Regions from separate parts of the Homo sapiens genome. Here region 2 is linked to region 1. Evidence: promoter capture Hi-C in human tissues and cell types (Jung and others, 2019). All regions are on one chromosome and are shown on one strand. The core of a region is centred on a gene start or on the middle of the fragment in contact, and the rest is flanking DNA. Distances in the headings are between cores, read along the strand shown.

Region 1 (7,066 bases), core at 4,482-6,981:
GTTTAGAGACTCAAAAGTATACACCCAACAGTTCTTAAATACATATGACAAATAAAAACATCTTCCTTTGAAGTTTTAAAAAAGAGAAATTTGTTTTATGGATCCCATTAAATAAATGAGGAATATAAAAAGCAAAGATTAGCATATTCCAATATGGTGAACACTATCAATGAAGTACTGCAAGCTTTTAAACTTGCAATAATTTTTATAATGAGAAACATCAAATTCATCTAAGAATGAAATTTTTCCTTAAATCTGTATTAAAATTAATACTCCATTGCTGAAATTTAACAACTAATAAAAATACTCTGAAACTCACATAGAACTGTGCTGTTCTTAAATGACTCAAAGAGAAAGCTGTGATTTTATTTAGAATATATATGCAAAATATTCACATCCTCTGACTTTCTTAATATATATAGATCTTTAGTAGCTTTCATTGAAAGTGACACTGAGCCACAATGCTGAAACTGAAGCAAATTACAACATTCACGGATCTCAGAAATACAGACATGATCAAAGAGCCTTAGAAGAAACAAGCACATAAACTTTCTGTCAAAAAATAGTTTTCTGTCTCAATACTTTTGAGATATTAATATTATGTTATAGCTCACTTATAATATAGAAAATCTAAAAGTGAGAAAAATATTTTAAACTTTTGAAAATATTTCCAAAAATGAATAAAATTATGTAAGTCCACATTCCCTTTTCCATAATTCCAAAATCACCAAATATCTAACTTTAGCACCAAAATTAATTTGATAGCAAAATCCAACCCAAATTTATGTGACTCTGTTTATAATTTTTATTCACTTACTGTGAATGTGATATTGATGTGTTTGATTACATCTTACTATCTCACACCCCATTGGGGGTATTATGTAATTGACAGTACATATGCAGTATTGCCTTTCCATAATAAAAAGAAATCTGAGTTCTGAAATATATTTGCATCCATACCTGCCAGATAAGGGACTGCAGACCTGGATTTCCTCTTCTTTTAAAGGTGATTTTCTCCTATGCCTTTAGGAAAAAAAATATTCTCTCTCTCTCTCTCTCTCTCTCTCTCTCTCTCTCTCTCTCTCACACACACACACACACACACACACACACATAAACACACACAGACACCAATTAAGATATCATTTCTCTGGGGGTGTAAGACATTGTATACTTTCCATAACTTATCTCTAATTTTCACCTTAAAAGTAGCTGTTATTATCCCCAGTTAAATACAGGTACTAAAACAAAAAAGGCTTAACTATTACTTTGTCCAACCACTAACACAAGCTATCAAACAATATTCTCATTTCTAAGGCGTTTTACAATTTCAACATTCTGCCCATAATTGGTTTCTGATTCATATAAACCTGCTTTTTAAAATAGACCCATTTATTTCACAGAGAGTGATAAAGGTACGGTCCATTTTAACAGACTGCATCATTTAAAAAAATGTTTGCCTACATGGGCTTCCACAGAATAACTTGACAAAATAGAAAAACAAATTATTTTACCGGGTAACTAAAATAAAAGCTTTTTTAAGATAGCTGGAAGAGAGGGAGAAGAAGCTAAGAAAAAGAAGCAGGTGCAATCTAGCATGAGACTAATACTCCTACATGTAATTAACTGTAAGGTTTTCTTTTTTATTAGTATTGATAATCAAATTTATAGGGAAAAAGTCCTGACATTTGTGTCCCCATTTTAAAGCACAAGATTTAAAAGAAGAAACTTCCTTTTATAAATCTGACCCTCTTACAGAGCTATCTACATGCTCTGTAAGAAGCTTGAATATAAAAAATTTCTAATGTATTGCATATACTTTACATATAAAAGCATGCTTAAGATATCTTAAGTGTCCCTTATTCCTCCAAGAAATTCCTCAAAATCTACCTCACACAGAGACCGGTCCCATGATACACAGTTCAGGTAACAATTCTACATTCTCCAAAACTTAATGTCTGCCTTTCTTCTGACAGCAAAGCAGTGAAAAACCAATGAAGAAAAAACAGAATTTCTTATACTCATCATTGTATGTTTATATAATTTCTTTTATATGTAAAGTATATGCAATACATTTGAAATTTTTTATATTCAAGCTTCAAGTGAACTACGGACATAACATTTATTGGACACTTCAAGTATATGATCTCTAATATTCACAGCTATCCTGCAAATATCATCCCCATTTTACAAATGAGGAAACTGAAGATCATAAAACTTGAGTCCAAGGTCCACATATAATAAGTCACAGTCACAAAAGTAGGGTTTACACAAGGATCTGAGCCCATTTCTTTCCATTTCACCTTGTTAGAATATGCTTAGTTTAGAATATTTCCTGTAAGGCAGGGATTTTCATCATGGCTATGATTTCTTCAGAACGTAGTATGTTGTAATACAAACACAAAGCCAAATAATGAATCTGGGTAACATTTAAATTGTCAAAAAAACTAATCTTCTACTAATTCTTTGCAGATCTTAATTAAGTTGTCAACTTCTCCGTGCCAAAACTTCTCCACATATAAAACATAGAGAATACCTTAAAGAGTTGTTATGAGACTGAAGTAAAATGTATAAAGCACTTAGTACAATGCGTGGTACAAAATAAACACTTCATAAATGTTGGCTATTTCAAGTGAGATTAAGAAATTACCAGATGGCCATATTTTGTATCAGGTGACTCCAGCCAGCAATAGCTGGACACCTAATCTAAAACCAGTCAATCCTGACACTGGACTGTGATTTAGTGGTAAAAGACAATAAGGGTCAATAAAATTATCTCTCTCAGAAATTTGAATTAAACAAAGACTGAGGCATTATTTGCCTAAATGACCTGGCTTTTTACCATCATCAATTTTCTACCATCAATGTTACCAATGACCTCTCTGTTGCTAAATCTAGTTTTTTAGCCCTTCATTTTATATTGTTTGGCAGCATTCAGTCTACTGAGTATTCCATTTATCTTGAAACATTCCTTTAGCTGTGCTCTAATCTCTCCAGTCGCACCTTCTCAGTCTCTTTGGAAGGCATTGAAATATTGCAGCTACTCAACACTTCATCCCAGGCCTCTTCTCCCTCTAGGCAATTTCATCCACACCCATGGCTTGAGTAATTATTTCTATGTCAAAATAATTATCTCTATGCCAGTTTACACTTTTCTTGTAAATTCAACTGCCTTGTCAATCTCTCTGCTTATCTGGATGTCCTAAAGATACCTCAATCTCCACTTATCTAAAACCAAATTAATGATCTTTCCTCTCACACCTACCCAAGGCCCCTTCCAATGCTCCCTATCCCAATAATGGCACCACTAACTATCCAGTTGAACAAATTAGAAAATGAGAAGTAGTCTTCGATACTTCCTTCTCCATCATCCTCATATTTCACTAAGTCCTATTAATTTTATCTCCTAAGTATTTCTCAATTCCTTCTCTTCATCTCCACTGCTACCTTCTAAGGTCTCTCTATATGCATTCTTGTATCCTCTGTACTCTCCTCAATGTAGCTGGTGGAGAGTATATCCTATATCCACTCTTGTATCCTCTGTACTCTCCACATTGTAGCCAGAGTTATTTTTTAATTATTCTAATCATGGCATGCTCCCACTTAAAAGCCTTCAATGGCTTCCCATTATTCTTAGGATTTCTGACCCAAATTCATATCATATTCTACAAAGTACTGGAAGATCTGGCTTCAGCGTACCTCTTCTCTCTTCCCATTGCCCCACATGTACCCACACTTGTCTCCTTTCAGTTCCTCAAACACAGCATAACATGTTTCCACCTGCTTGGGTTCTTTGCACATGGTTTTCCTGCTGCCTCGACCACTCTTTGCCCTTTTTTTCAATTATCCAATCCCTATCATATGTCAGCTAAAATATCACTTCCAGACAATATCAGTAATTCAGTTATTCATTTAAGAAATCTTTATTGAGAACATACTATACACTTAGAAAAGTTCTAGACATGTGGTATTGATAAAACAATGCCCTTGTAGAGCTTACATTGTAGTGGAAGGAGACAGGAAATAAGCAATACAAGCAAGTAAATTAAATAGTATGTTCAAAGGCAATAAATGCTATGAGAAAAAAAGGAAAAGAAGAACAAGGTAAGCTCATCCAAAGCAGGGAATTTCCAATGCCTAACTTATTGCCAGGCATATAGTTAGCACTCGATATTTGTTGAGTGGATGAATGAATAAAGGAATAAGCCTGTTCAAGTTATGAGGGAGCTAAAACTATAAAATGAGTAGAGGAGCTACTCAATAAAACAGAGGTGCCATGAAAGAAAGAGAAATAATGAAGGCCTTGAGACATAATGGTTCCTCGAACTTATTTCTGAGGGTGTCATAGTTTTCAGTTCCAGTTTCTGGGGTGTGGTGTGTATGTACCATAACCACACACACACACACACACACACACACACACACACACACACACACACCAGGACCAAAGTAATTCAAGTGGATCACTCTTGTAATGATAATACCTGATCAGGACATATATACAAGGTTATGTATACCACTGCCAACACCCATCACACACATATTCCCAAAGCCACTTCTTTTCTACCCACACACCCATGCCATCCCGTAACATCCAGTTCTTCAGTGGTCAGCCTCATTTAGAGGCAAACTCCCTCCCACATACTCAAAACTGTAAAAACCTTTGCTTTCTTCTATGACCCTGTGAGAAACTTAAAGTCAGTATCTCACAAATCCCAGCCATATGCACAAGGGGTCCCCTCAGGAATAGGATCCTGGGTCTCCCTTCCTGTCAGTCTTCCTGTCCCTTAAAGGCTATCTTCTACCCACAGAAGTGTGGACATGCACTCCTTTGATTCTGAATGACCTTCAAGATCATTGAACCCACACACACTCACACTCACGCTCCAGCCTCCTTTGGTAGGCTCCTAAAGGACTGGGGCTCCGGGTATCCCCTCAAGGCCTCTTGTCTTTTTAAGGACCCATACAAGAATTATTTGCATAAATTTCTCTGTGACCAGGAGTGACCCTGAGGACACTGCACATCCCCAAACACAAATACTCTAACTCCCCCTTCCATGGCACTGTCTGATATTAAAGTAACACACCTTCCACGTATACCTCCCTCTTTAGAGTCAGAGCCTCCTACTCCCACCCCGAGCCCAAATCATGCCCCTTTAGGGATCTCTCCCATGCTCCCACAGGGCAGTGTACACCCTTTCCATGACACAGCCTAGCCCTAGGATTAGCCTTCACCACAGGTGATCCCAGGATTAAGATCCTGTCTCTTCCCTCAGGTCCCAGCCCCTTTCGGGCCCATGTTCTGTCAGAAGTGTGCACACTAACCCACACTCCCCTCCACCACCCGGACTTCGAGGTCCCTGCCCGCCATTCAGAGGGGTGCACGCCACCCTTGACCCCTGACCCTGAAGTCATAACCCACCGCGCAAATATACAGGACCGCCTCCTCAGGAGTAGGACCATGCCCGAGTCCCCTGTTGCCTGAGACCCAGGACAGCCTGGCCGCCTCAGCCTTCCCCAGATCGGCCGCCCCCACAGACCTGCCTCAGGCGCCGACTGGCTCCCCTCCGCCATTTTTGTTGTCCCTCAGTCTCCGAGCTCACGCGAAGACCGCGGGGCAGTAGGGAGCGGGTGGTGGGATCAGTGGGCTGACAGGAGCTACCTCAGGAAGACGCGGCACGACGGTTGCCTGGGCAACGGGCGGCAGGCGCGCGGGTGGCCGGCGCGCGGCTGAGGGCGGGAGGGACGCCTGGGAGGAGCGTGCGTCCAAGGCCCCGCCCCCGCGGCGCGAGCCCGGGCCTGAGCTGGGACTTGGGCCCCGGGGCGCTGCTCCTCCGCAACCGATCCACCGCATCCTGGCAACTGAGCAGGCTCCGCCACCCCTAGAGCACAGGGGCCAGGTCTGTAGGGATGGCGCTTTCCTGACGGCGACCGGGGTCCTCGTACTGACCGCCCAGACTAGCTAAACTGGCTTTTCTGTGGTTGGTGCTCAACTTTGGGGACTTGGGACAGGTTTCTTGATTTCCCAAAGCTTCTCCCCTTGGTTTGCCTGGGTTACTCGTCTTCAACTGAAATGCACTGAAAACCAACTGTGTGCCCACCCCAACCCAAACACACAGAGGCCCAAAGGGTTCTGGCTCCTTGCCCCTCTGCGACAGCAACCCTCAACCCCAGAAAAGACTTATCCTTTTGCTGACGTATTTTTCAGTAAATATGGGCTGCTGTTTCCCACCTTTCAGTAGTGACACGCCGTTATCGTCTAAAACCAAGCTGGAACATTACCCGTCCTGACCAGCTCTGCCCTCCCGCAGTCCCCTGTATATTCCCTCTATTCCAAATGCTTTATGCATTATTTCCTTCTCGACCATGAGCTCTCTGATACCTACGGTTGTTCTCTTATCTTTGTATACTCCATAGTGCAGCGTGGTGCATGACACAAAGTAGGATCTCAGTCAATGTCTGCTGAATGGAAAATGGTGGTAATCTGAAAGGAAATGAGGTGGAGAGAGTGAAAGAGGGAAGGGGGAAAAACGCTAAGAAAAATGTGTTATTGAGCTGATTGCTTTAGTAGACAACTATTTTTAATCTTGCTTCAGACTCTGAAAAACAGGGTAGAATGTGTGCCTGCCGTTGTCCCACTGAAGAACACAGAGTCTGGGGCATTTGTCTCCTAATTTCTGTCTCCATTGGTTGAGGGTTGCTCTCCACCTTCCAGCTTGAACTCTCTCACATTTCCTGGTTATGCTTGCCAGGGCTGAGCAGACTTCTAGAGTTTGAGAGAAAGCCTTGAGGCAGAAATGCAGAGACGGACCGGAAGGCCTTCTAAGTAAGATGCTGGCCACATGCATGGAACTGTCCATTCATCTGCATTAAAATCAGGGATAAGAATCTTGTACAGAAAGTTACATGAAAATAGCTATCAGAATTATCTCTCACATTTGAACAGTTTAAAATTCACAAGCCATGTCCACACAACTATCAAGATGAATATATATGTGCTTTCCACAGTCCTAATGACACTTATGTAAAGGCTGTGAGGGTTTTGGGAATTTCGGTGTCGGAGGAG
Region 2 (6,612 bases), core at 1,023-3,522, 85 kb after region 1:
AAAATGCATGAATTTTTAGCCTAGCAAAACCAGCTAGTTATTTATACTGTATATACAGCTACTATTTTGGAAAAGTGGCCAGAATACCTTTTAATATACCTAATGTTAATTTATGGTTCAATAAGTGTACTGAGGTTAGTATGGATGGGAGAAAAGGGTTTTTAAAATTTTTATCTTTTATAACCTCCAGAGAAATCTAAGTAAATATTTTGTTCCAAGTGAGCTGTTTTTATTTGTGTTTGTCAGCATTGTCTTAATGTTTACTTTTCACAATATTTTAATATTGGTGAAATTGCACTCAGAGTTTATGTTGTTGATTTGGGGCACACATACCTACTCTGTGTATATATGCTGAACCATTTAGAACACTTTAACCTGTGAATTCACCCTCAGTACACAGTTCAACAGATACTGTAGTACTATTGTGACTCACAGGACATTTTATACATTTGCTAAAGAAATTACTTTAAAAGTTTACTTAACTGAGTATTGTTCCACCTTAAGGAATTATAGTTTTAACATTTGTACTTTTCTATTTCATGTATTTTCATTTCTAATAGCTGAACGTATTCATACTCAAGTCTAATGGATTATGCAGTGTACCCAACACATATTGTTTTATGATGTATCTGTATTTTCTGAAGTGTGAATATATATGTATGTTTATATGTGTGTGTTCATGAAACAGCATCTTGGACAGAATAGTTTTAATCTTGAAAAATGTAAGGTTATTTTCTTTCCTAATAATTTTTCACAAACCCATTTATTCTTGGACTTTGAAACCCAGAAATATAGCTTATTTTTTGGTCTGTATGTCTACTCTGCCTAGTTCTGTCTCACTGTCAACTCTAGTCAAAGATTAAAGATTACATTGAATTTTGTATTTGGTAATATGTGTTACCACTGTGTATTTATTGAAGAACAAATTGATTAAATTATGAGTTAAATAAATAGTGACACATTAGTCTTTTGCATAGGTGTGAAGCATGAACTTCTCAGGTAAGCCACTTAAAAAACCCAAACCAGAACAAAAAATACACTACTGAAGGCTTGGTAGTGTAGAGGTTGTTAAATGTGTAAATAGGCAGACAAACTGTATACCTCACCATACACTTGCTAAATGTCTCTTTGCAAATCTCTTAAGAGGCCAAAGAAAAAAAGACATCCCTTTGAAGGAGAGAAGCAAAATCACTTATTTAGTTAAGCAAAATGAACACTCTGCACAGGTTTTGAAATGAGGCTGTTGTCAAAAGCATGTTTTACCTTTCTCTAAAGGGGTAGGAGAATGTGTTTTAGTGGATTTTTAAAAATTCAGATCATGTTCCTATCCAACTTGAAAAATAAATTCATTTAAGTAAATCATTCATCATCCTCAGTTTTGAAAAGCTCAGACAGAAGGCAGAAAGGTAGAGGCTGACAGCTGCCCCTCCCTTACCCCCACCATTTTTTTTCTTTTTGTTTATTAGGAAATAGTTTTCTGAGACAAACTTGTATGAACCTAGTTCACGGAGCAAGCTTAATCCCCAACTTGCTTGCTTTTGAAATGTTGGCCATGTTAGCTGGAGAAGGAGCATTACTTACTAAAAATCAGCAATATCTGGAAATAATAAAGTTAAATTGTAGATGAATTAGCACATTAAAGTGCTTTTGTTGTACCTTTAAGCCTACAGGCAGATCATTAAATATGCATTTCGCTAGAAAGCAACTGTCTAGAAAGATAAGGTGGTTGAAAATATTCTACGGTGGAAAAGCCCTCCATCAGAGAGGTGGCACGGTTCGGCCCTCAGGATGGGAAAAGAAGGACCCTCCCACTGTTAGTTTAGGTTTGCAAGCCTCCAGTGACCTGCAGTTGTTACAGTACTTTTGAGCTGGGAGGAGGGAAAAGGTAAAAATACAAGTATGGCTGTTGTTGCTTCAGCCGGGCCTTAATTACCAGACACAAGAAGCAGTTCAGAAATCTGGTCTCTGTTGTTGTAGAGGTCACCAAATCATTAACATCGTCAATCTGGCAGTAGCTAATTTAAATAGCACCTGATGTTGCAACGCCTCCCTTCGTTTCCCCAGCCAATCAGATCCAGGCTTCGGCTGACAGATGGTCCCATAAATGGATGTAAAAAGGGGAAGCTTCGAGCCAATTTCAGCAAGGCTCTGTTCAGTTGTTCTTATCTACATCCTAGAATCGGGGGTTTCAGCTCACTGCTCCTTTTCTTTTTTTTCTTTCTCTCCCCCGCCCACCCCCCCAAAAATAATTGATTTGCTTTACAATCATCCACACTGTGTTTTGTGGATCTTTAATTATATATAACAATAGTAGTCATTTTAAATATATATTCTGAAATCTTTGCAAATTTTAACAGAAGAGTCGAAGCTCTGCGAGACCCAATATTTGCCAATAAGAATGGTTATGGTAGGTATGACTAGATTTATAATCTGTTGTTTGTGTTGCTGGAGGGAAGAAAAGCATCTACACCTTGACCAGTCTTATGCTTGCACAAGAGTTTAGTTCTGTGCTGCTGTTTGGTTCCTACATTTACTATCTCTTTTGTGTAGAGAGTGCGGGTAGGTCCTTTTATTGAAAAGCAATGGGGATATAAGATTGTCATTTTTAGCAAGTCGTTGTCAGTTTTCCCTTCAACATAAAGGCAAGGGGTGGAGGGGGAGGGCTGAAATAATTGCTGGTTTATTGAAAGAGGTTATATTACTTGAGACATAATGGCAAAAGAAGGGTTTTCTTTTTTGTAAGGGAGAGGGGGTTTGTCTACGTGCCTGGGTTTTGTGGGGCTGGGGGTGGATGCAGCGGGGTTAGGAATCTCTCAATTTCCGTGCTGGAAATTTAAACCTCGAGAGGCAGCTCCTGGATACTGAACACTGAGATGGGCAGTTGTGTTTCGGGGGACTGCGCAGTCAAAACGGCAAAGAGAGTGATTTATTTGGGCTTCAGTAAATGCTGCATCTTGTATTTCAAAGAGTTTCCTGTCATGACCTCATAAAAAAGAGGAGGCGGCTTGTATGTGTAGCAGTGCCTGGCGTGTTGAGTTGTTGCTTCCTTCTCTGGGCAGCAGCTCTGTAAGAAGGAATGTCAGCTTTTACATAACGTTCCTTTCCGCTTTTGACACACTGTGTGAGGGTCCATCTTCTTCTGATCACAGATGGAGTGGAATGGCTTGAAGATGGTAAGTGAAAAGAGGAAGGCAGCCTGGAGGTCCCAGCCCTGTGTGTGTGTGTGTGTGTGTGTGCTTGTATGTGTGTATGTGTAAGGATGCTGGACTGTGCATCGTAAATCACTGTGCTGATCGTTTGTGTGTGTATGTATGTGTGTGTTTATTAGTATTTCTCTTTTCTGAAAACCAGAATCCATCTCCAAGTGTAATGGCACTGCATGCACACAAGGCACACACACTGCCTCTTCCAGCAAACACACATTTTAGCCAAGGAAGGTTGGTGTCTTTTTTGACAATCAATGTCACCGTCACTGTTGGCTGGCGTGTCCACCGCCTCTGTGAGCCTTCAACGGAATTACACGACTGCTAAAGTTAAAGGCACATTTCTTTTTCAGTCTCATGCTAGGAGTGATGGGGAAGGATGGGAATGAGGGGTGGAGGAGGTGAGATTCAGTACCAGCCGATGCAATTGTGAAACAGGACTTTCGGATGTGGAAGGGGAAGTGGAAAACCTTTCTGCCGAAGTAGTAAATCTATTTTTAGCATCATCTTTTTCTGAAAAAAGAAGCAGGGAAACTCCTTGAGTGCCGCTTCTGTCGCCTGATGTTGACCCTGAAGATATGGCACAAAATGGCATGATTAGATGCCACGAGTGCCCACTTTGACTTTGAATTTTCACCAGCAATAGGTTTCACAAGGTTTCAGAGCTGGGTATGGGGGCAGGCTGTAAATTCATAACCATCTTACTTATTTTTCCCTAGAAAAGCCTGGGGAGGACTTTTTGCTCTGCATAGATGTTATAACAAAGCTGTGGTCTTTTTCCCATTCTTAGAGGATTGCCTTTGTCTGGCTGCTTGTTTTGATGGGTGTAAAACAAATAAGATTAGACCGAGCAGCCCAACTGAAAGCGATAGCTGGGAGGAAAACCCAATGAAAGGTTGCCGGGGAAACGAACAGAGGAGAAGCCGAGTAGGGAGCAGGTGGCTATCATGAGAACACACTGCAAACAGTGTAAAAAAAAAGGGGAGGGGGACAGGACCTCGATTATCTTTGCTGTTCTTTGTGGCCAGCCCAACTTTAATTATTCGTTATTAATAGGTGTTAATTACATTTCTAACTCTGGTTTACAGTGATTTTTAGAAATCTATTTTTAAGCATCTGTTCTGTCTCCCCTGTTTTTGTGTGTGTGTGCGTGTGTGTGTGCGCGTGTGGTTTTTGTTGTTGTTGTTGTTGTTTAAAAAACCCAGAGAGGAGGTGAGGGGGAAGGGAGGGTAGGGAATCTTGCTTTTTTTTTTTTCCTTTTTCCCCCTTTTCCCTGGTGTGAAATTGTACATGCGAAAAATCGCAAGGAATCCTGTGAGACCATTTGAAAAAATGTAAATTATATTGAATGAAGTTGACGGAAGCATAATAGTGAACTCCCACAGCTGATAGGTTCTGCAAATGATTTCTTAGAAATTTCCAGCAAATATTCATAGGAAAAATATAGGTAGAATAGATCTACCCTAAGCAATGATTTGGGGTTAGGTGATTTTGGTATTTTTACTAAATCGGATGTTGATACTATAGTTTCAGGGGAATTCATTGTACCTCTCATTTTTTTCCTCAGTAGAAATTACTTTACAAAATAATAAATGAAGAGCTTTTTGCTTTCCTTCTTTCCCCATGCCCACAGTCACAGGATCCATCAGGCTTGCACTCTCATAACCACTGCCTTCCATTTGGCATTTGGTCCTGATTCTGGTCTTGGCACAAACTGAGTGAAAAGCTGATTTTTATATTAGTGTCTTTGGACGTCTGGGACCCATGTGTGCACTGGGTGACAAGCATCTCTCTTTTTTCTCTAAATGTGCTTTACTAATAGTCTCTTTTTCTCATGATGGTGGGTACCATAAGGATTGAAAGGTGTAGTATTTGGGTGAACAGGAGATAGCGTAAAAACAATTGAAATGGTGATCTGTTAGGGTTTTTTACTAAAGGACAAAATAGATGCATGATCAGGGAGCTAATTGTAAGCCCAAAAATGAGAGATTTAAAAATGCTGAAATACACTAAAAGATTAGGAAATATAATTGGCTTTATTGAAAGTACACTTAATTTTTGCTCTCTTCATTGCAAATCCCCCCAATTCTTTTTTCCTTGCAGATGCGTCTTTTTGTTTTCTCTTCTTATTAGGGGATTTAAAAATTTTATTTTCACTCTTGAGGTAAAAATAAATAAACTTGTATTTTTTGTCATACACTTGAAACTTGCGGCCATATGTTGAGTGCATAAGCCTGTGTCACCTTTAAAAAAATAGAATTTTTTTAAGTCTCCAATATAGTTTCTTTTTTTATTTTCTGAGAATTTTCTGGCAATTTTTAGTTAGGGGAAAATAATTTCTGTAAGAAGTGTCATCTTGGCTTGGGTTGTAAAAAAGACACGTGGTTCTGATGCTGACCTTTCTCGATCCTTTGTCTTAAAAATATTAATGCCTACTACCTTCATGTGGAGTTGTGCTCTTATGGAAGCACAAGGCTGAATGTGCATTTATTAAGAAGTGAAAATCCAATTGGAAATATTTCTGCAAAAAACATCTGACTAAGTAGCAGTTTTAATGATCAGAATGTCCATATATCTCATAGTAACATAACAGCTAAATCATTTAATATTTAAATTTTTGAAAGGGTAAAATTAACATAGATGAGGAAGTAGCTGAAAAATTACTTTGAGAATTGTTGATTTACAAGACAATTTAATATCTCATTTTTTAAAAAGCTAACAAACAACTTAACCATTCATTTGTGATCTCAGTCCCATTCATTTTTACCTGCCATTCATTCAAGTCATTCTCCTGGCCAGATGTAGATGGCCTTGCTTCTGTTTGATGGTTTGCACAAAACCTTAAAACTTTTTCTCTCCCAATACTCCTTCCTTGGTCCTTTGAAAATTAGGGTGTTGTTATGAGAGGAAGGCCAGATTGTTGTGAGATAATAACAATAGAATATTTAGAAAGAGAGAGAGAGAAAGAAAATGAACTGCGCATTTGCCTTTTAGTTCTAAACTTAGTCTTGAAATTGGATTTGGGACACTTTGGACTTCAGATATTTTAAACTTAGGATTTCTATTAGGTATAAGCTATTTGAAATTTCACATCTAGAAATTATTGTTTGAATGGTGCTTTGTATGTGTGTGTTCAATATCTCTAAAAGGACTTGTGGATGAATTGAGATGTTTTTCTCAAGTTAGAGTTACTGTGAACAACAATGGGATTTCCTCAGAGTAAGTCTTTTTTTTTTTGGTTTGATTTCTTCCCTTTACACTTATTTCCTTATTATAGGTGGGTTCTTTTCCTATATGTAGGCCAAATACTATTTCTTCCATGAGGAGATATGCTGCTTCATTTAGCCCTGAGCATCTTAACACCTTATTTTAATTTTTTTAAAAAAAGAAACAAATTGTCTGTATGTAC

Evidence for each region. The method cuts DNA at HindIII sites, captures the fragments that hold promoters and counts their contacts. A contact is called where the count stands out against the background at its distance.
Region 2: a fragment that was not itself captured here is called in contact with the fragment with the promoter of AGBL4 in region 1 in 2 of the 25 tissues and cell types used here (dorsolateral prefrontal cortex and hippocampus).

Annotation. Positions count from the first base shown.
Region 1 is chr1:50,018,223-50,025,288 of GRCh38, forward strand. AGBL4 (AGBL carboxypeptidase 4) reads right to left here and starts at 5,732. Exons shown (of 14, transcript NM_032785.4): 1 at 5,541-5,732. The coding sequence starts at 5,574. It overlaps LOC105378708 (a long non-coding RNA gene), which reads left to right and starts at 5,799. Exons shown (of 3, transcript XR_947311.3): 1 at 5,799-5,900. The HindIII fragment of the contact is 7,609 bases long and covers 1,940-7,066 here.
Region 2 is chr1:50,106,792-50,113,403 of GRCh38, forward strand. ELAVL4 (ELAV like RNA binding protein 4) reads left to right here and starts at 2,129. Exons shown (of 7, transcript NM_001144774.3): 1 at 2,129-2,407. The coding sequence starts at 2,399. RefSeq lists an enhancer at 4,172-4,352. The HindIII fragment of the contact is 4,459 bases long and covers 44-4,502 here.